Regions from separate parts of the Homo sapiens genome. Here region 2 is linked to region 1. Evidence: promoter capture Hi-C in 16 types of primary human blood cells and fetal thymus (Javierre and others, 2016). All regions are on one chromosome and are shown on one strand. The core of a region is centred on a gene start or on the middle of the fragment in contact, and the rest is flanking DNA. Distances in the headings are between cores, read along the strand shown. Region 1 holds the start of PKD1L1-AS1 (PKD1L1 antisense RNA 1). Region 2 overlaps TNS3 (tensin 3).

Region 1 (6,798 bases), core at 867-3,366:
GGATGGGGAAGCACATGACAGAGAATAAAGCCCTATCAAAATGTACAGTACCGTGATTACATATGACTGCCTTCAGAACCTTACTGGATGATGCTTAAATATCACCTGATATGGTTTGGTTGTGTCCCCATTCAAATCTCAACTTGAATTGTATCTCCCAGAATTCCTGTGTTGTGGGAGGGACCTGGGGGGAGGTAATTGAATCATGGGGGCTGGTCTTTCCCGTGCTATTCTTGTGATAGTGAATAAGATCTCATGAGATCTGATGGCTTATCAGGTGTTTCCGCTTTTGCATCTTGCTCATTTTTCTCTTGCCACTGCCACGTAAGATGTGCCTTTCACCTCTCGCCATGATTCTGAGGCCTCCCCAGCCATGTGGAACTGTAAGTCCAATTAAATATCTTTTTGTCCCCAGTTTCAGTTATATCTTTATCAGCAGCTTGAAAATGAACTAAAACAGTAAATTGGTACCAGTAGAGTGGGGTGTTGCTGAAAAGATACCCAAAAATGTGAAAGTGACTTTGGAACTTGATAACAGGCAGAGGTTGGAACAGTTTGGAGGGCTCAGAAGAAGACAGGAAAATGTGGGAAAGTTTGGAACCTCCTAGAGACTTGTGGAATGACTCTGACAAAAATGCTGATAGTGATATGAAAAATAAAGTCCAGGCTGAGGTGGTCTCAGATGGAGATAAGGAACTTGTTGGGAACTGGAGCAAAGGTGACTCCTGTTATGTTTTAGCAAGAGACTGGCAGCATTTTGCCCCACCCTAGAGATTTGTGGAACTTAGAACTTGAGAGAGATGATTTTTAGGGTATCTGGCAGAAGAAATTTCTAAGCAGCAAAGCATTCAAAAGGTGACTTGGGTGCTGTTAAAAGCATTCCGTTTTAAATGGGAAATGGAACATAAAAGTTAAAGAAATTTGCAGCCTGACAATGCAGTGGAAAAGAAAAACTCATTTTCTGGGGAGAAGTTCAAGCCAGCTGCAGAAATTTGCATAAGTAGCAAGCAGCCTAATGTTAATCCCCAAGGCCATGGGGAAAATGTCGCCAAGTCATGTCAGAGACCTTCACAGCAGCCTCTCCCATCATAGGCCTGGATGCCAAGGAGGAATAAGTGGTTTAGTGGACTGGGCCCAGGTTCCCCGTGCTGTGTGCAGCCTAGAGACTTGGTGCCCTGTGTCCCAGTTGCTCCAGCCATGGCCGAAAGGGGCCATTGTACAACTTGGGCTGGGGCTTCAGAGAGTGGAACCCCCAAGCCTTGGCAGCTTCCATGTGGTATTGAGCCTATGGGTGCACAGAAGTCAAGAATTGAGGTTTAGGAACCTCAGCCTAGATTTCAGAAGATGTATGGAAATGCCTGGATACCCAGGCAAAAGTTTTCTGCAGGGGCGGGGCCCTTATGGAGAACTGCTAGGGCAGTGTGGAAGGGACCTAGTGGAGCTGTGAGAAGAGGGCCACCATCCTCCAGACTCCAGAATGGTGGATCCTCTGACAACTTGCACTGTGCACCTGGAAAAGCCACAGACACTCAATGCCAGCCCATGAAAGCAGCCAGGAAGGAGGCTGTACCCTGCAAAGCTACAGGGGCAGAGCTGCCCAAGACCATGGGAACCCACCTCTGGCATCAGCATCACCTACATGTGAGCCCTGGAATCAAAGGAGATCATTTTGGAGCTTTAAAATTTGATTGACCTGTTGGATTTTGGACTGGTATGGGGCCTGTAACCCCTTGGTTTTGGCCAATTTCTCCCATTTGGAACAGTTGTATTTACCCAATCCCTGTACCCCCATTGTATCTAGGAAGTAACTAACTTATTTTTTATTTTACAGGCTCATAGGTGGAAGGGACTTGCCTTGTCTCAGATGACACTTTGGACTGTGGACTTTTGGGTTAATGCTAAAATGAGTTAAGACTTTGGGGGACTTTTGGGAAGGCATAATTGGTTTTGAAATGTGAGGACATGAGATTTGGAGGGGGCCAGGAGCAGAATGATATTGTTTGGCTGTGTCCCTATTCAAATCTCAACTAGAATTATATCTCCCAGAATTCCCACATGTTGTGGGAGGGACCTAGTGGGAGGTAATTGAATCATAGGGGCTGGTCTTTCTCATGCTATTCTTGTGATAGTGAAGAAGTCTCACAAGATCTGATCATTTATAATGGGTTTCCACTTTTGCATCTGGATCATTTTTCTCTTGCCACCACCATGTAAGAAGTGCCTTTCACCTCCCACCATGAACCTGAGGCCTCCCAAGTCATGTGGAAATGTAAGTCCAATTAAACTTCTTTTTGTTCCCAGTTTTGGGTATGTCTTTATCAGCAGTATGAAAACAAACTAATATATCAGCCATGAAGAAAGTGAGTATTCAGTGTGCAAACGCCTGGTTTGATTTGTTTACATGCATGTCTGGGGTGACTGAACTCAAGTAATGCACCTAAGGCTCTATGTTTTGGATAGAAGTTTGGGTTTGATAGCAGGCACCAAAAGCAAATGACTAACTCAGGGGACAGAATACAGCATGTCTGTGTCCTGGGGAAGACCATAAACTCTGTCTTTCCAACTGTACAGGTCACTATAAGGATATAGTGAGTTAAGGCAGGAGAATGTGCTTGGTAATCTGTAAAGTGTTTTAGAATTGCACGGGAAAATTCCATGAGTTCCACTATGATTGAGACTAATTTTGTGGCTTTGCAAGGAGATTTGGCATGGAAACATACTCATGCTTTGATAACTGAAAGCAAAATTCTGCAATGAAACCATCATCTTGAGTGTGTGCTATCATGCTCAGTAATCCAAGATCTCACAGCTTACGTGATTCTCAACCATCTCAGCCTCTTCCAACTTTGGTGTTTCCAGTCTCAGAAAGGTGAGGACCTTTTCCCACATATAAGCAGTGACATCTTTAAGTCTCACAAAAGATTTACTTTGAAAAGATTTTCTTTTTTGGGGTAAAGTCATGAGAAAACCTCTCAGCTAGGAAAAAGAAAAAAATAAAGACAAATTTCATGTTAGCAGCCTAAATAAAGAGCTTTGTTAACGTGATAAACTATGCAATGGAGATTATATCTGATGATGCTACTTTACGAGCTTTTGGTAAAATAGTGATTTCTTGGTGAAAAAAAGCAAAATCAGGAAAATACCTCTCCTGAATTGAACTAAATGGCAGTAAGATGATCTCAGCAATGGAAATTCATTGTATTATAAAGGTTGTTTTCAGTATCTAACTTTGGAGACTGAGATTATCAACGCGATGTGCATGCCCATATGTAAAGTCTGTGTCTCAGTTTCAGTGTCCCCTGGTGAACCATTCTGAGCTGTGGGTGAGCCTCAGGAGAGAGGCCTGTGCCTGTGCCTGGGAGACCAGAAAGGGTCTTGGGCTCAGCAAGTTGTTGTGCCCTCAACATGTGCTCTATAAGCCTCCAGGTGGTTTATTTCTTCACTGCAGGCTGTAAGCTGTTAGCTCAAAAGCCTACTGGTAACAAACTCGAATTTTTACACATCCAATTGTTTAAAAAATAACCCAAACAGGGCTGGGCGCAGTGGCTCATGCCTGTAATCCCAGCACTTTGGGAGGCCAAGGCAGGCGGATCATGAGGTCAGGAGATTGAAACCATCCTGGCTAACATGGTGAAACCCTGTCTCTCCTAAATTACAAAAAAAAAAAAAAAAAAAATTAGCTGGGTGTGGTGGTGGGCACCTGTAGTCCCAGCTACTCGGGAGGCTGAGGCAGAAGAATGGCGTGAATCCGGGAGGCGGAGCTTGCAGTGAGCAGAGATTGCGCCACTGCACTCCAGCCTGGGCGACAGAGCAAGACTCCGTCTCAAAAAAAAAAAAAAAAACACCCAAACAAACATTTTAGCCATTTAGAGCCTGTCAGCTTTACACACCCTGCAAAACCTCAGGGGACAGCTGTTACCCACTGATAATGTTATAAGGCCCCAAGCTGCTGCTGGCTTCAGGAGCTTTCTGACCCAGAGCCTCCCCTCCATGCTGCTAAGCAGCATCGTCTAAGGGGTAAGCTCTCTCTCTGCTGCCCCTCTCCCCTGAGATCGCCCTTGCTCTTCTTCCTTTTTGGATGGTTCTTGGCCCCTACGCTGTAAACCTGTGGACAGTTTCATAGCATGAAGTATGAGGGAGTTCCCCCACATGGAAACACTTCAAAACATTACCCAGATAAAGCTTGTGTGTGTTATCATCTCTTGTGGTCATATGTTTGTTCTTGATTGGTCCCCAAATCCCTCGAACCCCTCACAAAATTTCAGAACTCTGCAAAGATGCTCAGGAGCCTGAAAGGGTAGGCCATTGGTGTGTAGGTCTGAGGCCTCCTGGATTTACCAGCAACACACCCATGGCAGACAGCAAGACCTGACTCTTCCACCCAGAGACCTCAATGCAATATTGCCTGCCTGTCTCAGAAGATAGCATCCAGGTGCCTAAGCACGACATTCAAGGCCCTCCATTCCTGACTCCAACCATCCTTTTCAACATAATGCCCACTTGACCCAGAACTCCAGCATGGCCCTCCCTGCATGCCCCCTGTCTAAAATGCTGCTCTCAGCAGTCATCACCATGAGTGGAACTGCTCATCAAGGCTCACTCTCCTGTTGTATGAAGATTTCCTGGTCTCCCTAGGAAGAATAAATGAGTCTCTGATCTAAGTTTCTTGCTCTTTGAGGACACTTCTAGTTAGGCTTTAAAATTGCCTATCATTGTGTAGGATCTGTATGCTGAGAACTATAAAACAGTGATGAAAAAAATCAAAGAGTATCTAAATAAATGGAGAGAAATACAGAATTCTAGGATCAAAAAAGCTTAATATTATTAGGATGCCAATTCCCCCCAAATTTGATTTATAATTCCACAGCAAGTTCAATCAAAACACCAACATGATTTTTTAAAAAGATAGTAACAAGATGATTCTAAAACATATTGAAAGGCAAAAGAGCTAGAACACCTACAGTCAAAACAGAACAAAGCTGGAGGACTCATCCATGCTACTTTAAGATTTGCCACAGAGTGAAAAAGACCTCATGGGATTGGCTAAAGGAAAGATCAATGGAGTAGAATAGAGAACCCAGATATAGATCCACACAGATACAGTCAATTGCTTTTTGACAAAGTTGTAAAGCCAATTCAATGGAGTAAATATTCTTCAAAAAAATTGTGCTGGAAAAATTGGATATTCATTTATAAAAAACAGGAACTCTGTTCCATACCTCACATCTTACATTAAAATTAGCTTAAAACAGATGATTAACCTAAATGTAAAACATAGAACTATAAAAATTCTAGAAGAAAGGCCACGTGCAGTGGCTCACGTCTGTAATCCCAGCACTTTGGGAGGCTGAGGCGGGAGGATCACGAGGTCAGGAGTTCGAGACCAGCCTTACCAACATGACGAAACCCTGTCTCTACTAAAAATACAAAATTAGCTGGGTGTGGTGGCACACGCCTGTAATCCCAGCTACTCAGGAGACTGAGGCAGGAGAATCACTTGAACCTGGGAGACAGAGGTTGCAGTGATCTGAGATCACGCCACTGCACTCCAGCCTGGGCGACAGAGTGAGACTCTGTCTCAAAAAAAAAAAACAAAAAAACCAAAAACAAAGAAACAAAAAAAATTCTAGAAGAAAATAATAGGAGAAAATATGTGACCTTGGGTTTGGCAATTCATTTGAGCCAGGACACCAACAGCAAAATCCATAAAAGAAAACATTGAAAAACTGGCCTTTATCAAAATTTACAACTTCTGCTCTGTAGAGATGCTGTTAAGAGAATAAAAGGAGAAGCTACAGATTTACAAATCACATATCCAATTTAAAAACTGTATTCAAAATATAAAAATTGCCACAATTATTTGTATATGCCAGTCTTCCCCTATGGACTGTGAGCTCCCTGAGGCAGGAAGCAGTTATTATCTTTGTTTCGCCATTGCCTGAATATAATGGGCATTCTTTAGTTTTTTGTTGAATGAGTGAGTGCATGAATGAACAAATGAGTGGATTGATGGATGGATGGGTGGGTGGATAGGTGGACAGGTAACTAGTTTGGTGAGTAGGTGTGTGGATGGGTGATCGATGGATTTATGCATTCATGGATGAGCAAGAGTAGGGAGCTAGGATCATTGATAAAAGCAAAGGACTCGGGCCTGAGTGTTGTCAAGGTGTGAACATGAGCAATCACTTTTAGTTTCCCTCTAGCTACTAAACTAGAATACCAGTAGACTTTTAAGGACTGCAGAGAATTTTTATCCACTTACAAAGCTTGAATATTAAATTTACTGAACTTGCAGTGGGCTCTACAATGTGTCAGGAACTACTACCCTAGAAGGCAGGCACACCAATATGCCTGCTAGGAATGTGGCTAGAGTTCAAAAGCAGACAAAAACCAATAGCACAAGACAATGGGTGCAATGAGGAGGCATGCTCAGAGCCTTTGGGGGTCCAGGGGAGAATCGGTGCTGGGAGAGCTTCTAGAGGGAACACCACATTGACCCTGTCTTAGAACTTAACGCTGAACGAGTCACAGTGGAGGGATCCGAGGGAAGGCATGTTCAGTAAGTGTGGACAGCATGCCTATAGGCTTAGTCAAGCACAGAGCAGGGGTCCCAACCCTGAGCCTTCCATAGGAACACCTGTAGGGCCTTCTGGAAATAGAAGTGATGAGTCCCACCCTTGTGATGTGGGCATAGCAATCCTGGGTCTGGCTGGGCAGAGCAGGTCGGAGCCTCGGCAGGGAGGGGTAAAATATAAGACACTCAGTAACATTTTAATTTCAGGTCAACAACAAATAACT
Region 2 (6,376 bases), core at 1,561-4,060, 310 kb before region 1:
GGGCAAACCTTGTTCATGTCAGGATTCTGGAGGGGAGAATCAGCTCAACAATACCAACCCACAGCAATGAAACGGGCGTTCCACAAATGCACACACACCACACAACACCGAATGCAAATCCGTGGGACAGCATTCAGGTGCAAAACAAGTAGAAACTGAGTAGAGACAAACGGGCCAGCCACTGACCTTGCCAAACCTTGCAGACAAGGGAGAAAGCAATTCACTGAGTTAAGCCAAGTACAGAGACATCACCTTATGCACAAGTTCTATCATACATAAAATTACTTTAATCATAATAGTTTTAACTCTAAGATAAGTTGCAAAGACTCAGAAATGAAGTTTACTTTTATTTTATCTTTACAAAAACAATTCTTTTTAAAGAAACTTCGTGATGGCGCCAAGATGGCAGTACTTTCTTTCCTAAGTCATAAAAACAGTCAGAGGTAACCTACCTCTGAGGCCCTGAACTAGCCAGGGAAAAACAGATACGGACGCCAAATATTTGCTGACCACCAGGACCTTACGATATAATTGGGGGTTGGGACTCTTCTATAATCTCTACACGGAGTAGCAGCCTGGTTGCAAGGAGGGTGGAGCTTTTACGAAGGGCCACTTCTATTATACCACAGCTTTGACTTCTTACATTGTATGTTACTGATCAATAAACTAGCAAGATCTTTAATTCACCCATTAGTTAAGATTGAAAAAGGATGCATTGTTCATGTGTTTATATTACCATTATTATCATTTATTACAAGGGCAGGGTAAGGAGAATAATCACAGAAGGAAAGTCCCCTCATTCCCAGTGCTGACACTGACCCAAGTGTTTATCTGCTTAAATAAGCAACAGTCTTAGCTCGGGTAAGGGGCGGCTGTTGTAACAACATACCACAGAATGGGCAGCTGACACCACAGCCGTTTATCCTCCCATAGTCCTGGAGGCTAGGAGGCTGAGATGAAGATGTGGGCAGGGTGGTTCCTCCTGAGGCCTCTCTCCCGGGCCTGCAGATGGCCACCTTCTCCCCGTGTCCTCACGTGGCCATTCCTTGTGTGTGTCTGTGTCCCAGTCTTTCTAAGGACACCAGTCATACTGGATTAGGCCCATCCTAATGACCCTATTTCAACCTAATTACCTCTTTAAAGACCTTATCTCCAAATCCTGCCATACTCTGGGGTCCTGGGGATTTGGACTTCAACATTTGAATTTGGGGAAACAAAATGCAACCCCCCAGCACTAACAATCAAAGGTCTGACAGGACGGGTGGAGACGTCAGGTCGACACAGAACGTTCTGGGCACACCAACAAGAGCTGGGTCCCCCAGGTGAGGCCGGGGGCTCCTGACATGCCGAAGGTGGCCTTACTCATCATTCAAGGCTGCTTTTCCAATGGTGCCTGGGGACAGGGGGCTAGGTAGAGGGTTGAAGAGAGGCCCAGGGTCAGATTTTCAACACAAGCCTGCAAACAACAGCAGATCTATACAAAGAATGGCAGTACAAAATGAGGACATTCGAGACTTTATTAACTTTCTCTGCTTCCTTCAAGAGCTCACCCTAACTTTGCTTCTGTGTCTCCTTTGTCAGGCTTGACCCTGGAATCCCTAATTAGGTTCACATTCCTCAGGAAGCTCTGTTATCCCACTAAGCGTCAAAGCCCAATTTAGCCTGCTCTAATCCCCATGAGAAAACACCCGCCCGGCAGACGCAATTAAACCTTCTCAGCCTGCGGGCTGAGAACCGGGACAGGAGCGGAAGAGAAAGAGAAGGAAAATTCCCAGAATCAGGTCATTATATTTTTCCTTACAGTTAACAAGCAGCTAGTGAAGATCATGTCTGTGGCACAGTAAAATGAAAAAAGAAAGGCTCAAGCTTTCCCAGTCCTTGGTCTTGGCTTGGTCTCGGCTCTTCTCACCTCTAGGGGCCTCAGTTTCCCCTTTCAATCCAACTCTATGGAATCTAATAATTTTTAGACAAAAGAGTAGTGCCCCTATCCCAGATGGGCTTAGCTGAACCTACTGGAACCTTCTTTTTCATTCTTTACTTAGGCTGTGTAGCTGTTTAACATTGGCTACCTTTACCCAGTTGAGGCCCATGGCCCACAAGGCAGGGCCAGGCCTTCGCTGGCCTCAGGCAAACAAGTTACCACTGGTAGGGAATATAATAGATTTAAAGCAAAAGCATAGTATCCTGTATCCATTATGTCACCATTATTTGTCTCAGATCAGAAATCAAATGTGAACCTATTGTTGGAACAATGTCCAGGGGATTCTCGAAGTGGCTGAAAAGCACTTTCAGGATCACTTGCATGCTGTATACACAAGTCCCAGCAAAGGGCACAGCACAGGATCGCTCGGGGGCCCAAACGCCTTCCTGCAGTGAGTCTGTCTTACAAGACCAGGGCTGAGCAGGGAGGCCAAGCATCTCATGGTGCAGCCGAGGCCCGCAGAGGCAGAATCAGGGTCTACAGACCCCTGAAGGCCAACACTTACCACAGTCCTACGCCTTATCTTTTCAAAAAGAGAAAGAGGACATCTGGTGATTGATAAAATGCTAATGGCTTGCAAAAAAAGCAAGAAGAAAAACTCATAAATCATAAATCCAACCTAATTGCAGAAAGATTAAAAGGTAGTATTGAGTTGATGAACCGTCTTTTTATTAGAGCATTATAATGCCAAGGACCAAGATTTAACTGCATCCACATTACTGGATCCATTTCCACAAGGAAAATCCAGGTCCCAACTCATGCATTCCTCACCAGCTACATCTGATCAGCCTATAATTCTCACCGGCCACCTATAATTAATAATAAAGTAATAAAGTACTGACACTGACATTTGTGAGTAATTTACATTTTAATTCATCAGAAGAGACTGATGATTACCTCTACAATAACATCCCTGCATGCTATTGCCTGAATAAGTTTAGTAGGTTGTGTTTTCAAAGACGGTGGCATCACACAGGGTCTTCTGTAAAGGAACTCTGCCATTCCCCCATCAAGAGGTAGAGTCTGTCCCTGTTCCTCTTGAGTCTGGGCTCGTCCTGGGTTTGCCCTGTGGCCTGCTGTGAGTGGTGGAATATGGCAGAACTCCGAAGCCTGGCCTTAGACAGCTGCAGTTGCCGCCTTCGCCTGGAGCATCCCATTCTTGGGCCCAGCCCCCATAATGAAGGGAAGCCTGAACAGCCGCATGGAGACACCTACAAGGGGGCACCGAGGTGCCCAGTGCCAATCGTTGGAAATGGGCATGAGGGCGTTTGTGACCTTCTGGCCACCCAGTCCCCCTGTCAGCACCACATGAAGCAAGCACTGCCCAGCCAGCTCACGAATCCATCACAGCTTGTTGGTTTCAGCCACTGAGTGTACAGGGGATTTGTTAGGCAACAACAGAGAACAGAAATAGTGTGCCCAGCAATGCGCACAGCCCCAGCATGCCCAGACGAGTGTGTTGGGCACCAGAATGCCATCCTTCAGTGCTCTGTGTCGGGAAGTAGAGGAAAGGGGCTCAAAATCAGCACTTGAAAAAGCCAACAGCAGCAATGAGGCCATGAGCTGTCACAGATGAGGAGATTTCAGCCGCCGATGGTGGGGGCAAGAGGCCGACAGAGCGCGGCTGTGGCTTCAGCACGAGGCGGGCAGACATGACCCAGGACACTAGCCAGTGGGCAGAGAGGCAGAGGGGCAGCCTCTCGTCCATCTACGCTGCGATTCACCAAAAAATGCATCAGGCTGAACATGCACGGTATGTGGTGTTCTTGAATGTAAGCTTCGGTTTTAAACAAATATGTATTTTAAACCATATATATACTGTTTCAAGCCCCAGAGTGACTGGACAGAACCGAAAAAGCTCTGTCTTTGCATCCAGAGACTGAAATTAGGGCAAGCCCTCTGCTTCTCCCAGCTGGCTCTGATGAATTTACGGAGACTGTCCTCTGTGAACTCAATTTTCCTCCTCATCTGTGACATAGGGATAATACGACCTCGCGGGGTGGATGTGAACCTCAAGCTCATAGGAAAGTCTTGACAGTGGGACTATATCAAATATACACTGTCAGATTGGAGTGAGGGTGAAAGGGGACCCCACGGCCTTTCAAAGACAGCAGCATAGTTACCGAAGGCCATCTCAGTCGGCCATACAGACTTTGCCTCTCTCCTGAAACACGAACTCCATATTTTTCAGACTAGGCATTTCCTGGACAATTTTCTGATGATGAGGCTGCAGCAATGAGACTGATTCATGATAATACTTAACCAGGGGCAAAACAGACATGTCCCTCGCCCCGTCCTGTTCACCTGAAGGAAGGCAGGGAGGAACCACTGCCCAAGACCATAGGCCTGAGTGGGACGGTGAAACCCGAGAGTCATGTCCTACAGAGATGGCCCCGGGTGTATGTTGATGTGTGCATGGCCCCATCAATCACAGCCAGTTCCTGAGAGCGATCCTACAGGCTCCTGGAAGGACGGGTCCAGATGCCATGCCTGACACCATGAACATTCTAAAACACTCAACTGGTAGTCTAAGCAAATGAAGGAACGCTTTTTGATTTTGCTTTGATTTATTCATGTTTAACATACAAGTTAAAATACCTGACTCTGAAGAAGCTGTAGGGGCCTACTGAGTGGGGACCTTAACTATTGGCACCAGAAATGGCTCCCTTTCCAACTGTGTGCCAGTGACTCCTAATCCCACTCACGAATGACAGGGAGTCATCATCTCATGTCCACCCTACACTGGCTTTCTGTCATGGCTCTGGCCACCCCACAGTGGGGGCAGCCCCTCACCACAGCTCTCTGTTTGGCCAGCAGCAGGAAGGCTGGGTTTGGAGCCCATGTGCCTGGTGCGCAGGCCTTCATGGAGGACACAGCCGCATATCGGCAGGCTGCCCTGCCTGCCGCACGGTAGACTCCAGGGCCTGGCACTGTCAGCTCCCCACACCTGATCTCTTCTTATCCTCTTTCCTCACCTGCAGCCAACATAGTCCAGGCTCAACTCCCTTGCCTAACCCTACCTCCCACCTGTGAGCCTCAGCCCAGGCTGCTCCCTCTGCCTGGAAAACCACCTGCCCACCTCCTACTGGGCAGGTGCCTGTGCCTCAAGGCCCAGTGGCAAGGCCCCTTCTTCAGGAGACACACAAATAAGATGTGCTTTTATTTCTGCTTCAAGAGAAGAGCACAGAAATGTTATGACCCTCTGCTCCTGTGATTTTGTAATATCCTCTTCTTATTTTAAAGGAAAAGGTCCAAGGAGGCAGTAACACTAAAACAAAGCACAGTTTTCCGAGGCTTTTAAAATGAGGGGTGGGCCCCACATCCACCAGGGAGCAGGCAAGCAGGTGTTTGTATTTTCAACCACGCCAGCCTCATGCTGAGAAAGGCGGGGTTCCGGACATGGAGCTCTGGAGCAGGAGGAGCTCCCACTGCCTGTGAGAGCCAAGGCCCGTTCATCAGGACGGCACTGAGCTCACAGGGAGCAGAGCCTCGGGCGATGACATCAGCTAATGCCACCCCCAGCTCCTGCTTCTTGGGGGTCTGTGGCATCTGAGGTTTCCATATGAAATCAATAGCAGGCTCTTCATATCAAGCCCTGGCTTCCACTGACCTGTTGCTAATGACAAGGCAGAGGAAGTGGTCACCCCTAGGGAGGGGATGCCCAGATCTCGAATAAAACCACCCTCCAGAGTGAAGCGCAGAGCTCTGACAGTCAATGTTCAGTGGTCATCCGTAAAGAAAAGGAATAGCACAAATAAGTGAGCTGGTCACTTCGCCAGACTTTGGGTCAGTTGTCTCAACCTCTCATTCATTCATTCATTGCAGAATGGCATATCAAATATCACACTTCGGGGCACTCGGAGATGAGAAAGAATTAGCAGTTGCCTTCGAAATTCAGTTTAAAATGGAAGAAAAGGTATAAACATACAACAGTTATTCAGGGAAGAAAATGGTAAATTCCACAAAGGTAGGCACCAGAGAAATTTTCCCTGAAATACATTTTGGCAAGAGTGTTTAACAATCACATGATGAACAGTTTGGGTTTTACCAACTGTCCTTTGCTCTAAAGAAGGCTGACAAGAGGCCGGGCGCGGTGGCTCACACCTGTAATCCCAGCACTTTGGGAGGCCAAGGCGGGTGGATCACGAGGTCAGGAGATCGAGACCATCCTGGCTAACACGCTGAAACCCTGTCTCTACTAAAAATACAAAAAAAAAAAAAAAAATAGCCGGGCATGGTGGCGGGCGCCTGTAGTCCCAGCTACTTGGGAGGCTGAGGCAGGAGAATGGCATGAACCCAGGAGGCGGAGCTTGCAATGAGCCGAGATCGCGCCACTGCACTCCAGCCTGGGCAACAGAGCGAGACTCCGTCTCAAAAAAAAAAAAAAGCTGACAA

What was found. The method cuts DNA at HindIII sites, captures the fragments that hold promoters and counts their contacts. A CHiCAGO score of 5 or more calls a contact.
Region 2: a contact is called between a fragment that was not itself captured here and the fragment with the promoter of PKD1L1-AS1 in region 1, in 9 of 17 cell types (naive B cells, total B cells, M2 macrophages and 6 more). The highest score is 25.6, in naive B cells.

What each region holds. Positions count from the first base shown.
Region 1 is chr7:47,793,175-47,799,972 of GRCh38, forward strand. PKD1L1-AS1 (PKD1L1 antisense RNA 1) reads left to right here and starts at 2,117. Exons shown (of 4, transcript NR_161269.1): 1 at 2,117-2,269. It overlaps PKD1L1 (polycystin 1 like 1, transient receptor potential channel interacting), which reads right to left. Exons shown (of 57, transcript NM_138295.5): 55 at 2,815-2,976. The HindIII fragment of the contact is 8,231 bases long and covers 1-4,180 here.
Region 2 is chr7:47,487,474-47,493,849 of GRCh38, forward strand. The region is part of intron 3 of TNS3 (tensin 3); the gene reads right to left. Among named protein-coding and RNA genes, the nearest start is that of SNORD151, 26 kb to the left of the region's middle. RefSeq lists enhancers at 1,041-1,587, 6,116-6,376. The HindIII fragment of the contact is 1,892 bases long and covers 1,865-3,756 here.